4 separate regions of the Homo sapiens genome follow, and all the other regions are linked to region 2. Evidence: promoter capture Hi-C in 16 types of primary human blood cells and fetal thymus (Javierre and others, 2016). All regions are on one chromosome and are shown on one strand. Each heading gives the region's core, a stretch centred on a gene start or on the middle of the fragment in contact. The rest is flanking DNA. Distances are from core to core; before and after follow the strand shown.

Region 1 (5,991 bases), core at 1-2,500, 230 kb before region 2:
ATTGAACATGTTTATGCCAGATATGAAGATATGGTATCTTCATCTGTAAAATGGGGATAGGATCTACCTCACAAAGTTGTTACAAGAACTAAAGTACAACAAAAAGATAAGCGTAAAGTATAAACAAAGTATCAATGAAATATGTGGTAACCTAAAAAAGTATAAGATTTAAACAAGATAATGTTAACAGTGCATATTAATAGTGTTGTTAATTATTATTAATAACATAATATCTTAATAACATTAACAACAAGAAGATATGAGATCCTTAATCAGATAATTAAAATATTGTGTTAATGAGAGTAGGAGTGGAGGGTGTATGGAAAGGATTTGTATTCCCAGATTTAGAGGGTGGGGAGCTTCCTAAGAGAAGTAGTACTTAAACTGAGACCTAGAGTTTAACTGAAAGGAATTAGCCAAATAGAAAGGTACAGGTGGAGGGGCTGTGCCCTCAGTAATAAGCATGTTCATCAACAGGTATTTACTGAGCAGCTACTTGAGCCAGCACAGGTCTAGGTACGGAACATTTACCAGTGAACGGACAAAACTCCCTGCCTTCTTGGAGCTTACATTCTAGTGGGGATGGACCATCATTGACCAATAAACATAGGAAGTAAATGACATACGATGTGGAAGTTGACTAGTGAAGGCCCACAGGTAGCAGAGTGATCCTCAGCCCAAGTGGCACACAGAATGTGGTAAGAAAGAAGGCTGGAGATAGAAGCAGGGGCCAGATCATAAAAAGTCTGAGATACATACTAAAGAATTTGTGGTTTTTCTAAGGCAACAAGGAGTCAGGGAATGGCATGATTAGAAAATTGTTTTAGATCACTTCCTCTGGCTGCAATGTAGAGAAGCAGAGTGGGGCAAGACTGGAGATAGTGAAATACCAGGTAGGAGGCTCTTGCACTAATGTAAATGAAGGGTTATGGTGGCCTGAACTGGAAGAAGTGGCAGGGGTGGACATGAGGAGGCTGGAGAGAAATGGATAGAAATGAGAGCTTACTTAGGAGTAGAGTCAGGCAGATTTTGTGACTGAATGTGGGAATGAGGGAGAGGAAGGAGTCAGTAATGGCCTCCAAGGTTCTGATTTGGGCAACTCACAGGATGATAATCCAGATCACTAAGGGATGAACATGGAGCAGACTTGCAGAGGAAGGGAGGAGTTAGGTTTTGGACTTGTTGAGTTAAGGTAACTGTGTGATATCTATGTGAAGATGTCCATAAGTCATTGTAACTATGGCTCTGAAACCCAGGGGAGAGATCTGTGATGGGGATAAGGGTTTATTAGGTCATAGCGTAATCAGAACAAAGGAAAAAAAAGATGTTGGAATGTAGCAATGAGCTCTCTGAGATAGTGCATCACAATTCACAACACCACTTTTTATTTATTTATTTATTTATTTAGCTATGTCACTCTCTTTCACCTAGGCTGGAGGGAAGTGGCAAAATCATAGCTCATTATAGCCTCGAACTCCTGGGCTCAGGTGATCCTCCCACCTCAGCCTCCCGAATAGCTGGAACTTAAGTGCATGCCACCATGCTTAGCTAATTACTTTTCATTTTTTGTGGAGATAGGGTCTCGCTATGTTCCCCAGGCTGGTCTTGAACTTCTGGGATCAAGCGATCTTCCCACCTTAGCCTCGCAAGTAGCTTGGACTACAGGTGTGTGCCACTGTGCCGGCTCACAATACCACTTTAAAAAACAATCTTAAGGCAAAAATGAATGCAGTGATCTTGAGGTTTGCATATTTTGACTTGAGCTATAATTTGAGATCATCTGCAGATATCTAACCCCACTACGTGAGGCTCTCAAGGTGTATAGCTTGAGTTTGCCATGCAGACTTGAAACCAAGTTTGCTTCTTTATTACACAAATCTTACCTTACCAGTGCTTTGGAAACCATTCGCTTCCATAGGATTATTGATTATATAATGACTTTTGACCTACACAGTTGTTCTGGGTTAGAATAGGTTTCAATAAGGAAGAGTGAATCATCTTCTTGTGGTGTTTTATTTGACTTCAGATAACAGATTTCTGCCACCGGAAAAGCAGCCGTTCATATGAAGTGGATGAACTTCCTGTCACCGAACAAGAGCTGCAGAAATTAAAGAATCCAGATACAGAGCAGGAATTGGAAGTAAGGTCTAAATATTGTGAATTTATTTATTTGATCATCAGTTTTTTAGAATTTTACTTGGTGGTATTTTAGACCTTCTGTTTTCTTTCTATCCTGTATGATTCTAAATATGAGTTACGCTTCACAGTGTTTACTGTTTATCAGTGAATGTGTGAATGTATTATGTAAATGACAACAAAGTTTATGTGGAATCAGCATGTAGTAAGCATTGCTAAACTATTATTACAATAAAGGAAGCTAAATTGTTTGAATTTCAGTAAGATTTAAGACAAACAATTTTTTGTTTTTTGCTTCAGCCATCTCTGACATCTTCCTTCTGTTTTCTCTGTTTGGGATTGGAGAGTGACAAGTTTGAAAAGGAAGATGAGATGAACATGAAAAAGTATATTTATCTGACGTTTATTCAGTGATTTTTGAAAAAATCAAATGCCTATGTGTAAAACACTGTGTTGGGTGCTATGGAAGTGTAGTGGATAACAGATTATGAGCTTTCATCCCAAATAAGGTGAAAGATTACCAAATAATTAGATTTCTATAATGAAATGCAGAATGTCATCAGTCCTTTGATAGAGGTATCATCACATACTCTGGAGTTCTCGTTGGGGTGAAGGGTATGCCTAGAAAGCAAGGCTTCCAGTGAGATGATAGCATTTGAGCCCTCCAGGTAAATAATAGGACTCCCCTAAGTGGTTTTCATCTGCTGAGAGATCGGGAGTAGAGGAATGTAAAATGCTTTATTTTCTTATACTCTCCTGGATACTGTGAGCTGTGTTTAAAACAATCAGGGTGCCATATTTTGGTTTCCTTTCAGGTGCTTGTGAGGTTAGAAGGTGGAATTGGGTTGTCCTTAATTAATAAAGTCCCAGAAGAACTGGTCTTTGCAAGTCTTACAGGAATCAATGTGCACTATACACAGCTGGCAACCAGTCACATGCTTGAACTCAGCATACAGGATGTACAGGTAAGGGGGAAGTTCCAAAGCTGTTAGTCACCTTGTTTTCATGCTGATCACCCAACCAGATCTAATGTTTGATGTTCTAAGAACTTTAATGTTTTGGAGGAAATATCTTGTGGCCTTCAAAAAATCATTCTGTGAAATAGTTGTTTCTACCTACATTCGTCTCATTAATTTTTCTACATACAGCAGAATTCTGCATATATTAGAGGTAACTCAGTCAGGGTGTCATGGAGGAAGGTGACCCATGGTTCACCATCTTGCCAATAGAAAAACCAATAGGAAGTCATCTAACCATCATTCGGAGGGATTGAGGTCTGTCATAGGGAGAACAAACTAAAGAACTGGACTTTGCTTTCAGTCAAGATGGAGTAACAGGGACTAAATTTACCCTCCCACCTGAAACAACCCCAGAATCCAGATAAATAAGAAGACAATGGTATTGAGACACTGGACATCAGACAATGAAGGACAGTGCTTTGACAGGTGGGAAACAAACGAGCTGAGCCCTGTAATTGCCTTTCTTACCAATTTGAGAACGTTTCCAGGGAGGGGAGACCAAGCAAGTACCCAGCACAGTGGAGAAGTTGAGAAAACAGAGCTGAGAGTCTAGAGAGACCAAGGTATCTATAGTTATAGGATGGTACACTTGGGCATAGAGAGCTGCACAGAAAAACTCTGAAGATCTATAGACCGTCCCTCTTGAGTATTTAGCCAAGTATTAGTCAGTGATGTATGTGAGGAAACTACCCATCTGAAAGGATCAGAGGGAACAGTGCCTGCTGCCCACACAGGGCTAGGAATAGTGCTTGTGCCCACCAGCTGGACTGGAAAAACTAAGAATTTATGAGACGTTGGGAAGAGTCTCAGGAAAGCCTTGCCCTCATGATTAATTAGCCCTAAACTGAGCACTGCTATAGACTGCCTAAGAAATCATAAAAGGAAGATCCGAAAGAATCAACCTCTTCCCAAGTAAATTAACCATATCCTTGAATAAAGCTCAAGAAGATTATTGGAATATGACAATTTAGCACCCAACAAGGTAAAATTCACAATATCTGACATCCTATCAAAAATTACCAGGTGTGCAAAGGAGTAGGAAAACTTTCTATATAATGAGGAGACTAATTGGTCAAAACTGATTCACAACTGGCACAGATGTTAGAATTTTTGGAGGACGTTAAAACTGTTAATGTAACTGTATTCTCTGTGTTCAAAAGGTTAAGTAGGGAGACTAATTGGTCAAAACTGATTCACAACTGGCACAGATGTTAGAATTTTTGGAGGACGTTAAAACTGTTAATGTAACTGTATTCTCTGTGTTCAAAAGGTTAAGTAGCAATATGGAAGACATAAAAAAACTAAAGCTTGTAGAGATTAAAATGTAATGAAAACTACACTGGATGGAATATAGCACACAACTGTGAAGGAAACTATACCAAGGCACATCATAATCAAATTACTCAAAACCAGTGTTAAAGCAAAGGAACAAGAAAAAAAAGACATGCTATGTGCCAAGGAATAAAGATAAGAATGACAACAGATTTCTTTTTGGGAACAATGAGAGTGGGAAGACAATGAGCAACATCTTTAAAGTACTGAAAGGTATCAGCAGACCCATGCTACAAAAAATGTAAAAGAACATCATCAGGCAGAAGGAAAAAAATAGTATCAGATTGAAGTCTGTTCTACACAAAGTAATGAATACCAGAAATGATAACTACCTGGGTAAATATATAAGATTATTTTCTTCTTATTTAAAGTAAGAGTGAGATTCTTATCAACAATAGCATAAAGGCTGAAGGGGAGAAATGGAAGTCTATTAGTGTAATCTTATACATGATGTGGTATGATGTCACTTGAATGTAGAATTATAAAGATAAACAGCATAAACTCTTAAAGCAACCACCAAAATAACAAAGAGTTATAACTAATAATTCAGCAAAGGAGATAAAATGAAATTAGGCCAGGTGAGGTGGCTCACGCCTGTAATCCCAGCACTTTGGGAAGCTAAGGCAGGTGGATCACTTGAGGTCAGGAGTTCGGGACCAGCCTGGCCAACGTGGTGAAACCCCATCTCTACTAAAAATACAAAATTAGCCAGGTGTGGTGGCACACACCTGTAATCCCAGTTACTCGGGAGGCTGAGACAGGAGAATTGCTGGAACCTAGGAGGTGGAGGTTGCATTGAGCCAAGATTGTGCCACTGCACTCCAGCATGGTGACAGATGGAGACTCTTGTCTCAGGGGGAAAAAAAAAAAAAAGAAATCATAAAAAAATAATCCAAGAGAAGGCAGAAAACAGAAAGCAGGGAAAGGAATAGATAGGACAAATAAAAAATAATTAGCAAGATGGTAGACTCAAACCTAATGGTATCAATTAACTAAATTTAAATGTTGTAAACACCGTAATCAAAAGGCAGAGATTATCAAATTGTATAAAAAAGCAAGAACCAATTATATGTTGCCTACAAGAAACACACATTAAGGATAAAGACACAAATAGGTTAAAAGGAAAGAAGATGAAAAAAGATATAACATGTTGACCCTTGTCATAGGAAATGAGAATGACTAGATTAACATCAGACGGAATAGATTTCAAAGTAAAGAATATTACTGGTGTAGTCGGGGTTCTCTTAGAGGGACAGAACTAAAAGGATATGTATATAAGTATTAACTTACATGATCACAAGTTCCCACAATAGGCTGTCTGCAAGCTGAGGAGCAAGGAGAACCAGTCCGAGTCCCAAAACTGAAGAACTTGGAGTCCAATGTTCAAGGGCAGAAAGCATCCAGCATGGGAGAAAGATGTAGGCTGGGAGGGTAGGCCTGTCTCACATGTTTCTGCCTGCTTTATATTTGCTGGCAGCTGATTAGATTGCACCCACCAGATTAA
Region 2 (6,006 bases), core at 519-3,018:
GACCCTCCTTGCAGCACCACCTTCCAGCTAAATGGGGAGGGATCCCTGGGGGGTGTACTGGGGGGGAGGGGACAGGGTTGAAGGTGAGAACAAGGGCTCTTTATCAGTAGCTGCTTACCCTGGCCTCCTCTTTCCTGCTTTCCAAACACCTGGGCCTCTCAGTGTCGGTCCGGCCAGACTACTGCATACAAGACCGCTCTTCCCTTTTCAAACCCAAACCAAGTACCCTCTCTCGTGTCTTCAGAGCTGCAGCCGCCCAGGTTGGGGCTGGGTAGCGGGTTGCCAAGGAAAATACGAGGCGCCAGCTAGCAGGCGGCTCCCAGCTCTACCCAGGAGTGCGCACACCCTGCACTCACCAGGGTGGCGGCAAGAAAAAGGGGGGAAGGCGGGGGAGGGGGGCACAACACCTTCCTTTGGGAGGCAGGAATGTGGGAAATGGTGGGTCTCTTAGGTTTCAGGGTGGGGGTGAATAGCCAGTCAGCCAGCCACCGATCCCAAAGGAGCGGATCAACTCTGAACCTGCCAAAAAAGACAGTCCGGTGCCCGGGAAATTTACAAGGTGAAACCGACTAGCTCAGCACTCGTGGGTGGCGCGGAGAAGTGGGGTGGCCGGCGACTCTCAGCTCCCGGGCGCGGGATCCCGCAGCGGCAGCAGGTGGGCTTACCCCCGCCCCTGCGGCCCCCCACTCCCTGGAGTCGCAGTGCCTGGTACCTTTCTGGCGCCGCGCTCCGCGAACTCGCGGGCGAGCTGACGCCCGATGCCTCTCCCGCCGCCGGTGATGAGGACGTTCTCCCGCGACAGGTCCCGCAGCTTGGCGGGCAGCACCAGTCCGACGGCTGCTTTCACCACCAGATAGATCATCTGTAGAGGGAACATCACCAGCGCGCCCAGCCGTTTCCACACCATCCTCCGCGCCGCGGAGCCGGGCAGGGGGCGAAACTCCCCGGGCCGAGCAATACAGGAATTAAAAAACACCCCGAACAATAAATAGTAAACCGAATAAGGAGGAGAGAGGCGTCCCACCTGGCCACTCTTGAAATCACCTCTTCCCAAATGCAAAGCACCGGGTGAGAAAAAGAAAAAAAAAAAAAAAAAAAAGATAAATTCTCCTCTGGGGGAGAAAAAGCGTCTCCTAAGGTTGGGACGGTAAAAGAGGTGGAGGGGGAAGCCGGAGGTGGAAAGTTCTAACAAGAAGTTTCTTGCCCCAGCAGCCGTTTCGGCTGGGGAATTCTCAGGTAATGTTTACAGACTGACAGAGGAGTTTAGGGAGGGGAAGAAAAAAAAAAAAAGGCACCAACCACACGCGCGCACCCTGCCTCGGTCCCGCGGTTTCAAAGTGCAAGATTAAAAAAAAAAAAAAAAAAAAAAAAAAAGCTGATTCCAAATTGTAGCGCCCCCACCCCCACCCCGTCTCCAGAAAAAAAAAAAAAAAAAAAGTGGGGGGAAAAAGTGCTTGGAGCTCCCAATTTCAGCCCGCGAAAGTCTCCCGACTCATTGCTATTCTTGGGCTCAGGAAATTGCTTAAACGCGATCTGATTGCCAGCAACGTGCAGGAGAAGTGGGGGGTCCGGGTGTCAGTTTCTTTACGTGCAGCGCTCGCCCTCGCGCGCGCTCGCTCGCTCCGGCTCCCTCCCTCCCTCTCTGTTCCAGCAGAGGCTGGGAGTTGCCGCTCGATCCAGCTCCCCTTCTCTCCCTTTTTAGCATTTATTGCCTTCTTTTTGTCCTTTCCAACTTGGAGAGGGTCCGGGTGTGGAGCGCGCGTGGATCGGACGCCTTGGTCTGCGCGGCCCTATTCATTCGCTCCCCGGGCAGCCGCGTCGCGGAGAGGGCGGCCCCTTTTTCCCCCATTTTTTCAATACCCCATTAAGTCTGATTGACAGTTAAAGTTGTTGGGAGGCTTCACTACCGTTCCTCTGAGTGGCTGCTGCGGCCTCCCCTCCCCCTGCGCCGTCGCGGGGAGCGCGCATAAGGCGCGCACTCGGGCTCGCCGGGACTCGCGCTCTCCCGGGACTGGCTCCCCTCTCTGCAAGCCGGGACTTGCCGCCGGTGTCCCTGAGGGCTCGCAGCTGTAACTCGAACACGCTGGAACCGACTCCGGCGAGCCGGCTGCCTTCTCGAGACGTTCCTCCTTGCCCGGGCCGCCCGCGGGCCAGGTGATCACCCCGAGTGTGGAGCAGGCCCGGGGGAGCTTGCGTATGCCTTGATCCAACCAGGTCACCCAGGGTTTTATTTCAGGTCATTTGGTCATCCTCGGCCTCCAGGTAGGATCAGGAAGCCACTCCTCACCTTTGCCCGGACCTCTTCTGTGTTCACGTAGAGTGGACTTTTAAAAGCCTGACCCAAGTGCCTCACGATGCTTAGGGGGAAGCCGCTGGGGAGCAGGACTTTGCTTTGAGGGGAGGGAGTAGTCAAGGTAAAGGAACCTCTGCTCCGAGTGCCAATAAAATCCCCACAAGATTAGCTGGGAGCATATTTATTGCTCATCTGAGCTAGAATTACCTTGACTGACACCAATTTCCTTAATAACAAAAGCCTGTAAACAAAACGTCCTATTCGTGCGCCCCTGTGCTGTGCAGCCAGCGTCTCCTGTCCTTGGGTCTCCCTGGACTGCCCTGGCGGGGCACCCACCTTCTAACCTCCTGCCCTTCCCGACCGGAATGTCTCCCCTGCTGGAGGGTGGGACCGAGCTATTTAGAGTTGTCTGTTGCAGGAAGTCTGGGAGGTGAGTCACTAAAAAGCAGCCCCAGTTCAAAGTGCTGATGGGACTTGCCTCCCGCCCCCCTGCACGTTCCCGGGGCCGGAGGAGCGAGAGCGAAGCAGGGAGCTGCCCTGTAATCTGGGGCAGCCGTTTCCAGCCCGCGACTTGTTCAGACGGCGATTCCTGGGCCTCACCCCCAGAGATTCTGATTCAGCAGGGCTGGGTGCGCTGGGATCGGTACTTTCAATGCTCCGCCTGGTGAGAAAGTCACTTCGAAAAACGCTGATCTGCGGGGAGGGGAGGCTGGGATTACCTCGTCACCTGCAAAGACCTAGTTCTGGGGAGAGGTTCTGCAGGGGAGGATCTTCCTTCTGGGTGAAAAGCCACTGGAAGAGCAAAAGGCAGGAGAGGCTTAGGATGAGCAACTGTCCTGCACTGAGGGCCTATATTCTGACACAGTCCTTCCCCTGACCTTGCAATCGGGGGACTGTTATCCCATCGTCCAGGTTACCCAGCCAGGAAGTGCAGGAGGGGGGATCCCAATCCAAACCTCTTCCCACTCTGACCAGACGGGAGGAGAGAAGTGGAGGATGGGGTTCAGCTAAGGGTTGCAGAGCAGAGACCCCCCCACCCCCCTAACGCCCCCAAGAGTCTGACCGAAGGGCGGACCAATGTCTCCATCAGACCCCAGGGCCGGAATCCATTGTGGTGACGGCCTCCTCTCATCTTCGAGGTCTGTAAAAATGGGAAAGCGATTCCAGCCTGGGAGTGACAGGCCTTTCCCACCCAGCAGCGGCTGGTGTCCGCCAGGCCTGCGAAGAAGCCTGGAAAGATCTGAAGACAGAACCAGGCTGCAAAAGCGGGCTTTGCTCATCTGTTGTCCTCGGAGCCGCCTGGTGGCCCAGATAGGATACTGCGCCTCCGAGCTGCCCGGCCTCCAACCCAGCGGCGTTCCTGCTAACTAGCCATGCTTTTCTTCCAGGCATTTCTCTCATGTAAGGTTAACACCCCAAGTCTAAAAGGGCTTGTGAAGATCATAGTCCTCCTCCCCCACCCCAAACACACTTTTATGGCTGGGGAAACTAAAGCCAAAAGATATGAAGCAACTCATATACAGAGATGCATTTTCACCCCGGTCAGATGCCAGACCGGCTGGGTAACCGTTAGGTCCCTCTTACATCTCTCTGGTTGTGTGCCTGGGATGGAGGGCAGACGGTGGGAAGGAGGTCGGGAACCCAAATTGGCCTTTAGTGCCTCAGGGCCTTTACACAGTTTCTGATTGAATTTCCTTAACAGCCCAGGGAGGCTCGTGCCCATTTATTGCAGGAGGAAACAGGCTCAGTAAATCTAAGTAACTTGTGCAATGCCACGCAACCTGCTTCTCAAAAGGTTTGGGATGAAATCAGAGGGAAAAAGAACATGTCAGACATTCCCCAAAGGAACTGACAGTTCCAGAAGCTGGCCTGAGGTGGATGGTGGCCTTTTTTTCTACTTGGTCCATCTTTCAGGATGTGGTTTTTGTGGGACTGGCAGCTCTGCAAGCCACACGTTTCTCCCAGCATCAACTGCTCAGAGAGAAACTTGTCACCTCCTCTGTTGCCCTCCCCCGAGGTCCCTGGGAAGATGGGGCCAAGGAGACCTTGTGTGGGGGTGATGTGTGTGTGCACAGTTCAGCAGGCTGGCCCTGAGGGTCGTGTGGCCTGGCTTCAGTGAGAACAGCAGGGACACGTCCTCTCTGCCTTTCCCTCCCTCCCCCAGCCTTTATCCTTTGCTCTTGTACCCTCTCCTGGAATTTAACTCAGGGCAGAGTTTGAAATTTCACATCCCAGGTCTGTCCCTGAAAATGTGAAAGGAGGCTTTCTGGGCTTGAAGGGAAGAGGCGAGCTGCAGTTGGGAGAACTAACTTTTTCCGTGGCTCAGCTCCCCCGGTGCAGCGAGGATCCACACTCACCCTGTGGTTCCTGGACCAGAAGCCTGTTAGAAATGCAGAATCCAGGCCGGGTGCGGTGGCTCATGCCTGTAATTCCAGCACTTTGGGAGGCCGAGGTAGGCGGATCACCTGAGGCCAGGAGTTTGAGACCAGCCTGGGCAACATGGGGAAACCCAGTTTCTATAAAAAATACAAAAATGAGCCTGGTACAGTGGGATGCACCTGTAATCTCAGCTATTTGGGAGGCTGAGGCAGGAGAATCGCTTGAACCCGGTAGGTGGAGGTTGCAGTGAGCTGAGATTGTGCCACTGTACTCCAGCCTGGGCCACAGAGCAAGACTCTGTCTCAAAAAAACAAAAAGAAATGCAGAATCCCAGGCCCCACCCTGGCCCTCCTGAATCAGGCTCTGCTTTTTACTGAACGAGATCCCCAGGTGCTCCTTTGCTCACTGAGGTTTGAAAAGCGCTGAGGCTGGGTCCCGCAGGCAGGAGGAGGACTTTGGGTTTCATCTGCAGTGCGATGAGGGCCTTTGGGAGGGGGCTGTGGAGCAAAGGCAGATGTGATGGAATCTCTGTTTTCGGAGTCTGCTCAGGCTGCTGGGTCCAGGATAGCTCTGGGTACTGAGTGGTTGTCGGGAGAACAGTGAGGAGGCCATTGGTACTCAGGCCAGGGATGGCCACGGGCCACCAGCTCATGATGGGTGAACAGTGACACCTGGAGCTCTGCTGCCATGAGTGCCCAGCTCAGGGACTTTGGGGTGGGGATGGGGGGCCCCTTCCTTCCTCTCCCCTCCCCTCCCAAGAGACTGCAGTCACCGGAGCCAAATCCCAGCAGGTCTGTGCTCACTGCTGAGCTGTTCTGCCTCCTTCCTGACCCTTCCTCCAGCTCTTGAGCAGGATTTTAATACCAATGACTTGGTGTGATTGACACACACAAATGCATGTGCACACAGACACACGTGGACTCACACACGTACATGGCTTTGCGGGACAATTGGCTACTTTCCCCTGAGCAGAACAAGCTGGCAGTGTTTAGCCAGGGAGATTTGGAAAACTGCCTGGTCTAGTGGAAAAAAGTGTTCCACGAAGTTTAACATCAGCTGCCCTGGAGGGTCTCTTCGTGGAGACAGGCTCCTGGGAAAACATGAGTTGTATGCGATGGCCGACTGGGCAGTTTGCCTGGCCAGAGGCAACAGAGAGGAGAAAACAGGCATCAGGTGAGTGGAAAATCCCTGTAGGGAGAGGACCCATGGGGACCATGGTCCAGGAAAGCAAATCTGCAAAGGCCAGAGACGATTTAAAACCCTCATAAAACACGTCCCCTTCCTAATACAGAACATTTGCCAAGAGGGCCCCTTTCCTCCTCGGTGAGGCCTGG
Region 3 (6,167 bases), core at 272-2,771, 140 kb before region 2:
AACCTGCGTGATCATGTGAGTGCAAGTGCTTTGTAGATTGTCCTGGGAGATGTGGCATATTATGACTAAAGACTTAATTGAACCCTGAACATGTATATGAATAACTGGAGACAGATTGACTGGATTACACATTTTTCTTGAAAATTTCCTAAATTTAGCCTACCTCTTTGTTGCCTTTTATTTCCCAGCTTAAGTGGTTCTCTATAACACTATATTTTAAACAAACCAGAACAAATAGTATACAAAAGCATAGACAAGAGGGATATAACAAGAGATGGTTTTCTGTGATCCGTGGCACCTCCTCTCTACCCTGCCTCCACCACCAAAAGGGGCTTTAAATTAAGATTCGGAATGGCAAATTCACTTACCAGCTCCAAACACAGTAGACAAGGAAACCTTGTGAGGAAAATCCGAGAGTATATTTACAGTTTCTGTTCAGAAATACATAGCTTAACTTCGAAGGAGGAAGCGTGACTTTTCACCTGCAGATAGAACTAGGGTCTGATTTGAAACAGACCACTGGCTTCACTGAACCCCATCAAAGAAGTCTGCTTCTGCCCGGAATTGGAAAGTGCCAGTGGGCATGTAGTTGCTAGTATGGGATTTCTGTTTTTATTTTTAACAAGCTTGGGCCCAACTCTTAGTATCAAGATGGGTGAAGACAAAACTGACCAGAAAAACACGTATCAAGTCAGCAGTGGCTCACCCCTCAGAGGCCATTTTTCCCACCTGCTCCTCTTATACCTTTGGTTTGTTTTTGGTTTTGGATTTTTTCTCTATGTTCCTCCTACTCTTTCTTTCTCTATTTTGCTTGGGCCTTCGTTAGAAGAGTTCTAGTAATCATTTCAGACTTCCAAAATTCAACCCAGTAGCCTCATTTTACAGGTGGACCCACTAATACACAACAGCTCGATGTGACAAACCATAGACTCACAGTTAATCACTTGGAGAGCCTGGATTCACCTCCGCGATGACCTGCCTTTCCAGCCCTCCAGTGGCGTCCTCTGTAGTGAGTTGTAAATGTGCCACTCTAGAACATTCCAGGAAAGCCCTCCTCTTGGGCTAAACTCTAAAACTAAAATGAAGTCCTGCCCATGTGAGCTGCTTGTTTAACACTTTGGATGCTAATCAGAGCATTAATGAGAACACATGGATAGATTCGGCAGGTCTAATGCTTGGGACCTTCTCCTATTTGATTCCATAAGACTAAATCCCCTATAAACACTTCCCTCCTGTGCACACACACATGCATTCACATACAGCACTCACGTATCCCTCCCTTATAGCCAAAGACCGAAAAATAAATTTTTTTTTTCTACATTAAAAATAAGACCAGCTAGTAACCAGGGTTGGCATTCCCATCTCCTGTGGAACCTGGAAGGACTAGCAGATAGCTATAGAGATCTGTCTCCTTTTTAGTGTGGTTGTATTAAGGGCAATCTTGCCTCCCATGGCACCCCAGAAAATCCAGGAGTTCAAGTGGGGGTGCACTGTAGGAGGACTCAGCAGCTGTTTTATGGAAGGTTCGTCAGGGATCAGACTGAAGATTTTGCTTTTGTGAGAACAAAGTGAAATGTGACATTCAGGAGCAGCTCGGGGCCTATATATAGGGGCCCAGGGCCTGCTGGGATGGGGTTTTACACTTGGGCTGTCCTTTTGCCCTTCCCCTGAACTCTTTTCACTTCAGTCATGAGCAAACAGTCAGTGCCTGAACTAACAACCCTGTAGTCCTCCGAAGCACGGCTGGCTTACAGTACCGAACAAAGGGAGGGAGTGCCGCGTGGGCCGGCCCAGGCCGAGGAATGCGGCTTCAGGGTTCTGCTCCATAAATTTAACCAGCACGACGAAAAGGAGATAATATGAGCCTTCGTGATGATCTGAAAGGGGGAGGTTCTGTGTCCCATTGATTGCGGTCTGGCCCAATGCCAGGCCCAAGCCTGACCGACAGTTGAACCATATCATTAAGGCGTGTAATACAGCTCGAGTCTTGTACTGCCGCCAATGAGTGCATATCCACAGGGCAAAAGTTTATAAAGAGTCGAGGCTGTCCTGTTTAACCCTCTCACACTGCATGTAATAGAACCAGCTGCCATTCAGAACTTGCCCATCTGAGGTCATAAAGGAAAGCCTGCACGTTTCTTTTCTTCAAACAGCTTTTCAGGACTGGGGAGAGGAAGAAACGCTGTCTAGAGAGGGTCAAGGCACGGTGATGTTTCTCTCTGGAGAAGCAAAGCAGTCTGCCTCCCTCCCCCCGGCCAGAAACGGGACACCTTAGTGCTTTCTTCAGAGTAGCTCTCTGTTTGTGGTATAATGTTGCTGGAGGAAACAGGGCTGACACCACAGGAAACCTGCCTGTCTCCAAGGAGGCCGCATCGGTGGCAGAGGTGGGTCAGATGCCGGCCGTGGAGTGCTCTTGTCAAGCTTGGGATGATGCCGTTTTCCTTCCCCATCACCTCGAAAGCTGTTAATAGCCTTGCTTTCTGGCCTTCCACAGCTACGCCCAGGTGCTAAAACAGAGCAGGTGGAAGGCCGCCCCACGGAGTGGCCTGTGAGCCCAGAGTTCTCACTGTCCGAGGCCGGTGGCCCCATGGGAACTCTGTCCATTCAATAGGGAGGGCATGTAGAAATAGGCACATTGTCACAGCAAGGCCTGGAGTGGCCTGGGTTCTTACAGTGGGCACTGCATTGAGGAAATGGGCAGACAAACAAGGATTTAGCATAAGTATAGTCAGAAAGAAAGGGCTGCCTGTGTTCAAAGGACAAAAGGAAGAAAGTGGGCGAAGGGGTAGTTTAGTCCTGTCCATCAGCCAGTCACGTTCTTTGGCCAAACTCGGGACCTGCCTGTGCTTTGTCCATGGTGTCCAGGAAGAAATCTGTGTCTGTCACTTCCAGATTGCTGCTTGTCTGCAATGGACAATGCCTCTTAGGCAGACACCTGCTCGGGATGACAGTGCTGCAGAAATTGATCCAAAACATTGACTAGCTTGCATGGTATCGCTGTCATTAGTATTCAGTCTTCACAACCACCCTATGAGGTGGGTGCTATACTTTCCCCATTGTACAGATGGGAAAGTTGAGGCACACAGGGGATACGTAACTTGTCTAAGATCTCAGAGGTAGTAAGGAAGGGAACCAGAATGTGGACCCTGGCCAACTGAACACAGAGTACATGCTCCTAATCTCTGTGCTGCTTCTGGGCCATCTCTCGGTCCCTCACATCGAAAGACCTCATGATTTCAATCCAAAGCATCTGACCAAGTGTTAGGTCTACTTCCTTTCGATTCTTGGATATGAAGGGTAGGAGCTTAATATCTGCCTATAGCCCAGAAGATTTGTGCAAAGACCCTGGTTCACTTGGAGAGGAGGTACTATAAAATTTGGACCCCACAATGCGAATGAAGGGTATGTATTGAATTCCCTCAGCCCACCAGCTTAACACAGAGACAGTGTGAGGGATATACTATAGCTGGGAAGCTTGGAAGGGCTCATGTTCAAGGGCCTCTTTGGGCCAAACAGCAGTGGGCCTGAGCATGGAGAGACCCTGGCCTTTTAGTGCCAGTGCCTAGAGAAGCAGGTCACTAAGCTTTGTGCCCAGGAGCTGTGCTGTCCCTGGTCCATCCCTGTGTACCCCATTCCACTCCTGAAATAATGAACTACTGCAGCCTTCCAAGTTCACAGTGTGCCAGTTTGTCACAGAATAGCAGTGACACTTCTCTGCTGCAACCCATCTTTGCTCTGCCATGCTGCCAAGACCATCTTCACCAGGCGGTAACCTGGGAACTCCAGCTGGTACACAGTACAAGAAGCCTCCGCAGTAGACTGTCCCAGGTGCATGTGCTCAGTATGTCATAGCCATCTCCTTTTGGAGGCCAGGGAGAGCTTCTGTTTGGGTGCCACGGATCCTGGACAGAAGCTTTCTAGAGGTAGGAGAAGAGACTAAATGGCTGGCCAACCCAGAGATTGTTGGATTGTGTTATGATTCCATGGTCAAAGTGCTTTAAAAACCTAGAAATTGGCTCTGGTAGTGAGTCCCAGGATGGAGCTAACTTACGATCTGGACTCCATTACATGATTGCTAATCCTGAAGTTCAGCAAACGTTGGTACTGGCTGACTTTTAATGGAGTACCTGTTTGAGGGTTCTCCTCATCATGTATTTAAGGTTAAATTGTATAAAGGAATTCTGCTGCTCTTTTGAAATTTTCTGGTTCTGTTTAACCATACCTAAAAATGCCATGAGGTAGCCAGATGATTGACTAACTGGGATTTATGGAAATTCTTATCTGCAAAAATCTCAAGACAAAGAGGGCACTAACTAGAAGGTTCCCAGTGCTTTATGTAACATGCAGAAGGAAGTCTGGTCTCAGCTTCTTGGATCTGAGCAATCCTTTGGAAAGGGAGCAATGAAGAGCAGTAACTGAAGACTCATTTCCTGCCTTCTGTGTGACTCACTCTCCTTTGTCAACTTCAAGTTTGCCCTAGGCCTGCTTGCTTCTCTCCACCCCAAGGAACTTGGTCTTTGGAAGACACAGGCACCTGCCCTCTCTGTCTGCCTTTTGCCCCCAGGTCCAGAGGGAGAAACAAACCCTCAGTTGGAGGAAAGTCTAGAGCACAGGCTTTGTGTTGCTCAGAGAAGCATGACAGGAAGTGGTGCTGTTGCCTCTGCATTGGCCGACTCCTGGCTGCACCTGCTTTTCCCAGAGGCACGGGGAGGCCCAGGCAGGGGCCCAGGGCCTGCTGCTGATCAGTTTGTCCTGCTTGCAAGTCTGCATCCCAGTACCCAACGGGGCCAAGTAGAAAAGGCACATAGTGTAGTGTGAGCCGTAGCTGTCACCAGATGGGTCTTTCCCCTCCGTGCCCAACCCCTTCCCTGACCTGAAAGGGCCTAGCCTCTTTCCCCACTGGCTTCCACCAAGTTCTAACACATTTTATATATATCGATTTCCAGGCTTGTAGAGGCAAGACCTACAGTCCAGGAGTTCAAATGGATTCAGTGTTGTTGGTTCTTGTTTCCTAGAAGGACAAGTGCTCTGAAGGTTTGGTGTCAACTCTGACCCAAGGGGTGTATCTGATTTTTATGAAGGCACAGAAATGCACCTGAGGTGACCCCAAGTCCTTCTCTTTTATTTTTTGATTTCCCACCACCTGGATCATTAATTCTGCTTTCAAGGGGGATGGGGAAAGGAGAACATTTCAAAGCAAAGTTGATTTGGTCTCTGAACCAGCTTGTCTTCTAGGCTGTAGTTCACCCTGATGAGAATCAGAAAGGACAGTCTGTAAACCCCTTCACTCTAGTGACTCTGCAGCTGGGGAGCCTCAAAACCAGTTCCAGATGTTCTCTCTCCCTATATTGGCCAGAAGGGAATTTCGGGCAAGCAAGGAGGCAGAGAGCTTTTGCCCATTCATTGAGTACCCCTGTCTGCAAACTGTGTCTTGCTTCATGGCACTTTAGGGAGAGTGCTGAGCACCTGGGTCCATTTGGGACCAGCCAGCCCTTCCTGTTCCTCGGTTAGAGGCATGCTGCTCCAAGCTGGCTGGTTACTGCAAGCAAGAGAAGCCCGCCTTCCTGCTGTTCAGGGTCAGAAAGCAAGACCGTGCTGGAGAAGTAAGTCAGGCAGGCTAGGAAGGAGACCTGCAGATGACCCTTGGGTTAACAAAGCAACTTTCACGGCCCTGTTCACCACCAGCTAGGATAGTACAGGGCTTTGCCTCCCAATCTTGGGAGACGAGGCATAGATAGTAATGGTCAACTGATGGCCCTTTACTCTTGAGAAACTCCACCCAGCCTCCCCTTATCCAGAAGAAAGCCATTCCTGACTAAGCCTGGCCATTCTGACGCCTTCTTTCTTAGTCTGCACCCAGCCTGTGCTGTATGCGGTATATGATGGTAGAAATTTGCACTCTTCATGCTTTGATTTTAAATGCATATTAGACATTTTGGCATTTGTGCCTGAATGCTCTCTGTATCATCTTTTTTAAAACATAGTTTGATTATGTAAGTTAAAGAATGTACAAATGTAAACTTCTGAAAATACATACAATATATGATTTCTTAGAGTGTATGGACACTGCTCCAGAGGCCTTGCATGAATTATCTCTTTAATCCTTACAAAACGAATGTGATGGGTACTATTATTCCCACTTCAAAGAAGAAAATAAAAAGGACTTA
Region 4 (6,472 bases), core at 2,890-5,389, 190 kb before region 2:
ATTACTCCTGTTACCATTTTATGGATGAAGAAACGGAGACCCAGTGGAAGTAAATAATTTTGCTCAAGATGGCCAAACAAAAAGTGGTAGAGCTTTTGCACTTCTTCCTAGCTCCCCTGACTCCTGGAACATTGCTGGACAGCACAGTCAGCCCTCCATATCTGTGGGTTCTGTATTCATTAATTTAACCAACCACAGATCAAAACCGAAAAAAAAAAGGATAGTTGTGTCTGTACTGAACATGTACATGTTTTCTTCCTTGTCATTATTCCCTAAAGCATACAGGATAACAGCTATTTACATAGCATTTACATGGTAAAGTAATGTGTTATAAGTAATCTAGTGATGATTTATATACAGGAAGATGTGTGTAGGTTGTATACAAATACCACACTATTTTATATCAGGGACTTCAGCGTCTGTGGATGGATGGTGTCTTCTGCATGTCCAGGAACCAGTTCCCAATGGATACTGAGGGACAGCTGTACTTCTTAACCTGATACTGCAGGTTAAGATTCACAACATCGTCTCCATATTATAGTTGGGTTTTCCAATGCCAGTGTTGTCTGTGAGCCTTGTTAGCCTCTCCTTCCCTGCAGAATGAGTTTCAGAGAACAGAGGTGGAGAAAAATGTATCTTTCCCTCTTAGAGGCTTGTTGCACTGTTCATTAACCATGCTGCTATTTTTATGAGGCATTTCAGAGTCATATATCTGAGAGTTCACAAAGAAACAATGTATGACAAGAATAATTCTTGTAGCAGTTTTTGTGAGGCGGAGGATGGTAGGGAGAAAATTTAAGCTTATGTCAGGACATTACATTAAGTAATTTCTACAGTGTTGGGGATGAGGGAGAATCCCCCCTAAGAGGAAAAGGAAGGTACTTCTAGAAGCGGGTGAGAGTCTGGCTTTTCCTTGGCTTTCCTCATAGCCACATGATGGCATGTCCTGCCTGACTTGGAAGGGAGGCCTCAGCGTGTCCTGAAGTAGTGATGTGGAGGCGCAGTTGGTCCCTGGATACAGGCACAGGCATATCACACTCACCTCCAGCAGGCAAGGGGGAATTACAGCTTCGCTTTTCCTTTTCTATTACACACCAGTGGGGAAGCCCTCCAGTGCCATTCCTAAGAACAAGGACATTTTCTAGTTAGGCACATAAGGATGATCAAGATAAGCTCAAAAACTAGGAGCCACATTGGAGAAGTCAGGTTTAAAGTGTGCAGAGAACATGACAGAGAGTGGACTGTGCGCCATTTGTCCAGTCATGCTTGTGCTGTCCTCCCCTTGCGCTTGTACTCAGTCTTGCCTCTGATTGGGGTGCCCTTCTCTGTTTCTGGCCAGAGGCTCCAAGTCTGTAAGGCCCAGTCCACTTGCCATGTTAAGAATGTGATCTCTCCCCACTGTGAGTTCCCATGGCCCCGTGTGCTTCCATTACAGCAGGCACCAGATTTTACCTTGAAGTGTAACCATTTGTGCACACATCTCTGATATCCGTCAACATTTCTCACATCACCAATTAGGTGCTGGGCGCTGTGAAAGAATGTTAGAAAGGAAGACTTAGAAAATGTTTTCTTCTTTTTGTGAGGATGTGGAACAGGTAAGGCAGAGAAGGAGTAAGTAATGATAATCCAGAGGAAATAAGTATTGCAGTGGGGTCTGTGCAAACTGCACAGTTCCATGAGAGAAGTGCTGTGGGGCCAGGGGTAAGAACACTTGATTGTGTTCCTCAAGGATGAGATTGGCTGGAGACAAAAGATGGAATGCAACGGTCTGTATTTATTTGCATCCCAGAGTAGACCCTGTGGAGGGGGGCCAGGATTTTATCTGACAACTTTTTTTTTTTTTTTGCCAGTCTCCCCTCTAGCCATAAATAGTTATTGTAAGGAAAATTAAAGTGATCCAGGTTGTATCCATGTGGGCTGTCTTTTATCTGGCATAGCATTTTTCACATGCTGTACATTCAATGAATGTGTTATTGTCTAGCTATTTTCTTTTTTTATGGAAACAAACAAACCTTTTTTTTTTTCTCTTTTTGAGATGGAGTTTCACTCTTGTCACCCAGGCTGGAGTGCAGTGGTGTGATTTCAGCCCACTGCAACCTCTGCCGCCTAGGTTCAAGTGATTCTCCTGCCTCAGCCTCCCAAGTAGCTGGGATTACAGGCACCCACCACCATGCCAGGCTAATTTTTACAGTTTTAGTAGAGATGGGGTTTCGCCATGTTGGCCAGCTTGTCTCAAACTCTTGACCTCAGCTGATCCACCCACCTCGGCCTCCCAAAGTGCTGGCATTACAGGCGTGAGCCACTGCACTTAGCCCATACAAACTTTTTAAAAGTTTATTTACAAGTTTCCCCCCAAACATATCTGTAAGCTGGTGAATAGCCAAAATCGTACTATAGCAATACAGACAGGAAAAGGACATTGACTTTTAGGATCCTATTTCTTCTCCTCCCTTCCCCATGCCTCAGGTCTAGCACAGCACTGGGGCACAGCAAGCGCTTAGCAGATACTGACCTGGCTCTCATGAAGCCAGGTGGGCACTATTGATTGGACCCAGGCTTCGCTTAAGGTAGCAGGAAGCTGGTTTAGAGGAAGGAGAAGAAAACCTAGTCCCTTTTAATCTAATGAATTAAAATAATATTTATGGGAAATATTTGCTTTATTCCAGGAAAATGTTTGAAGTAAACATTTCCTGCAAGCTGTTGAATTTATATAATAAAACATTGGTTTGGAAACCTTAATTGTTTTCACTGAAGTGAAAATTAAGCAGAACATGCTTCCCAAACAGCCCCTTGTCTCAGTTTTGTTGCCATTGTAATGTTCAAAGCAGGATATTGTGGCCATTGAGGTAATTTTCTCTTTATTGGTAACTTGGAAATGAGCAAGGATCATGCCAAAGTTAGTTATAAAAGAGGAGGCACTCATGGCTCCTTGTAGTTTTATAGCAATTCAACCTTTGTAGCGTCCTCCTGTTACTATTTGATCTTCACAAACTTATGCATTAAAGAGTCAAGTTTATCCCCATTTGACGGATAAAGAAATTGAGTCACAGTGAAGGTAATTAACTTCTGGAGGGTCAAACAGGGAGTTTGTGGAAGAGGACCAGGCTCTTTACAGCCCCAAGCTCTTTTCAAAGACCATACTGCTGCTCTAGAAAGCACTCTTTCCTCCTTCAGGAATTAAAGCACTTTCACGTCTGTGAGATAATTTAACCTTGCAACATCCCAGTGGGGCCAGCAGGTTAGGTATGATTATCATTTCCCTTCCAGTGATGGGAAATTAAGTTACACAGGTTAAATGGTTTTGCCAAGACCGTGCAGTCAGTGTTGGAACCAGGGGATGGTGCCCAGGCTTCACAAACACTGAGCCCACTCTTTTCCTACCACACTAAGCCTTCTCAGAGGAGAGCCAGAGGAGCTTCTGATGCCTTGAAGACAGCTGTGAAACATCTTGCTTCCAAGAGGGCCTTGCTTTCCTAGCACCCACGCCAGATTGTGTGAATGCTTGGTTCTATAGTCTCAGCGGGTCATGCAAATCTCCAGTCCTACGATCACTAAGAAACAAAGCAAAAGGGGGCAAAGCCAGATAGATTTTACCAGCCTGTTTGGATTTTGTGTCCAGTAGAATTAGCAAGTGAAAGTTGTAGGATTGCTACAGAAGAGTTGCTTAGAAATCAATTAACGTGACAAACTGAGGTGCCTCAACAAATAAATTATATGGAGAGATAAAAGTTGTTAGGACTAAACACAGGAAGAATTTGCCACTTGTTTCTCTGTAAAAGGTAAAAACATAACAGTGAACTGTGTCTAACTTATGTTAAAAAATTGAATTTGGTGAGAAGCCTAGTTTTAATAATATTTCATATGATAATTTAAACTCTCTAACTTTTGCCTATTTAACCCCATCTTGTATTCTTCCTAAGAGATGTGTCAACACTAAAACTTTTCTTAGTTATTCCAGCTGAATATGGCAAAGCTACAATAGCTTTTCCCAGATGCAGACTCTTAACACAATCGCTGATATTCAGTAGAAACTCTTTGGATAGCAGATTTGGGAAAGAACCTTAAGGCCAGCCTTTAGCCCTCTCAAATTATAGGTAGAGAAACTGAGACCCTGTAAGGTTCTCAAAGCTAATTAGTCACAGGGCTAGCCCTCAAACCCAGGCTTTCTGGCTACAGATCTAGTATGATTGTTGAGACTGGGCCGGCAGCTTGTGGGCACCTGCTTGGTAGGAGTGAGGGGGAGAAAAGTAGTAGGGTGTAAGCCTTGCCTACTGTATATCTTCTCAGCGTTCTTTATTTTTTATCCATTTGTGTGTCTGTCTCCCATACTATACTGAGTTCCATGAGTACAAGGGACTAAGTCATACTCGTCTTGGTATCTTTAACCCTAAGCACTTAGCCTGTGATCTAGGAAGCCCTCAAGGGTTTGTTGCACTGAACCAGTCTGTTCTGTGTCAAGGTCAACTTACCGGAAGGGGCTGCAGGTAGTACAGCTCCTTAAAGCACCTTCTATTACTAGTCCTTCAGCAGAATCTTACCCAGTGAGTAAACCCATGCAAAACTTTTGCATCTCTCCTGAAAGCAGAACAAGACCTGCCCCCATGAAAAGAAAGAAATAGGGAATCCCTTTATAATTAGATTTAGTGGGCAGTGGTGAGATGTAGTAGAGATGAAACTTTAATAGACACATAGTCTTTGGGTGATGCCAAAATTAATCTAACTTTGTGGGTTAAAATGAATTTTAAAATTTTTCTAAATGTTCATATGTTTTTCTCTGTATGTTGTTAGAATTGTCATCGGGTTCTTTCTAAAGGCTGTGTGAAAGAAAAGAGCAAGCCAGGTGCGGTGGCTTACACCTGTAATCCCAGCACTTTGGGAGGCTGAGGCGGGCGGATAACCTGAGGTCGGGAGTTCGAGATTAGCCTGACTAACTTGGAGAAACCCCATCTCTACTAAAAATACAAAATTAGATGGGCATGGTGGTGCATGCCTGTAATTCCAGCTACTTGGAAGGCTGAGGCAGGAGAGTCGCTTGAACCTGGGGAGGCGGAGGTTGCTGTGAGCCTAGATTGTGCCATTGCACTCCGGCCTGGGCAACAAGAGCAAAACTCCGTCTCAAAAAAAAAAAAAAAGAAAAGAGCGAAAACATCTTTAGTACTGGTTCTTGCCCTAGGACAGAAGTGGCTGTTTGCTGTACCTCTCAGTGGACACTGAAAATGTGGATGTGTCCAGTTGCCTGCTGTCCAGCAACCCTGGAAGAACTTGTGATGGCTTTGTCTTCGTTATGAGAACACTTTGATCTGAACCCCTTTCCTTTTCTGAATCCTTTCCCTTTTTTTTTTTTTTTTAAGACAGTCTCACTGGCTGAAGTGCAATGGCACCATCTTGTCTCACTGCAACCTCTGCTTCTTGGGTTCAGGCAATCCTCCCAACCCGGCCTCCTGAGTAGCTGGGACTACGGGAGCACACCACCACACCTGGCTAAATTTTTTTTTCTCGTAGAGATGGGGTTTCTCTATGTTGCTCAGGCTGGTCTCTAACTCCTGGGCTGAAGTGATCCTCCTGCCTCAGCCTCCCAAAGTGCTGGGATTACAGGCATGAGCCACTGTGCCTGGCGTCTGAGTCCTCCTTCTAAAGGGAACCCACTGCACAGCATCTGGCTGCTGCCAACAAAATGACTGCCCCACCAGTCCCACAGGTGATGAGAGTTTGCAATGGCCTTCACAGCTTAGTACCTTAGTACCTTTTCTCTCCTGGTAACTTAGAATGGAAGCCCCATGGGGGCCCACGCATATCTGCGAGGGTGCACAGGCATGTGGCAGAATGAGCCAGGGGCCACCCTCTTGTTCTGGAGGTGCTGAGAGCCGGCCTGGCTGGGGGCTGTAACTGTCAGGCTGACTCCCAGCCACACTGTCCTCCCTGGAGTAGGTGCTCGAAACCTTTGCTTTTTGCCTTTTCGCTTTAATCTGGAACGCTTGGGGAAAAAAAAAAAACAAAAAAACAAAAAAACAACAACAAAACAGTAGACCAAATGGTGACTGAGTCCCAACCCTTCTTCAGGCCAGATGAAATCATGGTCCCTGCTGGCGCCATTCCTCCATCTCAGAGCCCTCACTTGGGTTCAGACCCTCAGTCACACAGGGAGCCCCGCCACAGCTGAAGTGTTTTGTCAGAGCAAGATTGCAAAGAGTTAACACTTTTGCTTTTTCGGAAAGTTATCTGTGAAGAGTATTAGTTGTTTAATAAAGCGTGCCTGCCCTCCCGATGAACCCGCCAGTGACTCTGCAGCTGGGGTCATTCCAAGTTCACGCAGTGGACTTTTGACTGCCTTCTGTGTCTGTGAAAACAGTCGGCAGCTCCTGCGGGGATCATTCATTCAGGCCTGTAACACAAAACTATTGCCAATGGGCACCTGCTGGGGCAGCTTCCCGGGAGGGCTGGGAGGAAGATACCAAACTCATCAGGCATCTGT

The links. Contacts are between HindIII fragments. The CHiCAGO score rates a contact against its expected background, and 5 or more counts as called.
Region 1: a fragment that was not itself captured here is called in contact with the fragment with the promoter of DHRS3 in region 2 in 8 of 17 cell types (activated CD4 T cells, total CD4 T cells, naive CD4 T cells and 5 more); the score reaches 15.1 in activated CD4 T cells.
Region 3: a contact is called between a fragment that was not itself captured here and the fragment with the promoter of DHRS3 in region 2, in 4 of 17 cell types (non-activated CD4 T cells, activated CD4 T cells, naive CD4 T cells and 1 more). The highest score is 8.1, in non-activated CD4 T cells.
Region 4: a contact is called between a fragment that was not itself captured here and the fragment with the promoter of DHRS3 in region 2, in 10 of 17 cell types (activated CD4 T cells, naive CD8 T cells, non-activated CD4 T cells and 7 more). The highest score is 14.9, in activated CD4 T cells.

What each region holds. Positions count from the first base shown.
Region 1 is chr1:12,383,234-12,389,224 of GRCh38, forward strand. It overlaps VPS13D (vacuolar protein sorting 13 homolog D), which reads left to right. Exons shown (of 70, transcript NM_015378.4): 59 at 2,027-2,140; 60 at 2,952-3,101. Among named protein-coding and RNA genes, the nearest start is that of SNORA59A, 120 kb to the right of the region's middle. The HindIII fragment of the contact is 6,419 bases long and covers 1-4,460 here.
Region 2 is chr1:12,616,442-12,622,447 of GRCh38, forward strand. DHRS3 (dehydrogenase/reductase 3) reads right to left here and starts at 1,769. Exons shown (of 6, transcript NM_004753.7): 1 at 713-1,769. The coding sequence starts at 907. RefSeq lists enhancers at 1,394-2,025, 2,026-2,657, 2,658-3,289 and a silencer at 3,525-3,776. The HindIII fragment of the contact is 18,116 bases long and covers 1-6,006 here.
Region 3 is chr1:12,476,490-12,482,656 of GRCh38, forward strand. The region is part of intron 67 of VPS13D (vacuolar protein sorting 13 homolog D); the gene reads left to right. Among named protein-coding and RNA genes, the nearest start is that of SNORA59A, 28 kb to the right of the region's middle. RefSeq lists enhancers at 1,258-2,115, 2,116-2,972, 4,705-5,223 and a silencer at 1,605-1,899. The HindIII fragment of the contact is 1,795 bases long and covers 625-2,419 here.
Region 4 is chr1:12,427,278-12,433,749 of GRCh38, forward strand. All of the region lies in intron 65 of VPS13D (vacuolar protein sorting 13 homolog D), which reads left to right. Among named protein-coding and RNA genes, the nearest start is that of SNORA59A, 77 kb to the right of the region's middle. RefSeq lists an enhancer at 6,210-6,354 and a cis regulatory region at 6,277-6,287. The HindIII fragment of the contact is 6,682 bases long and covers 799-6,472 here.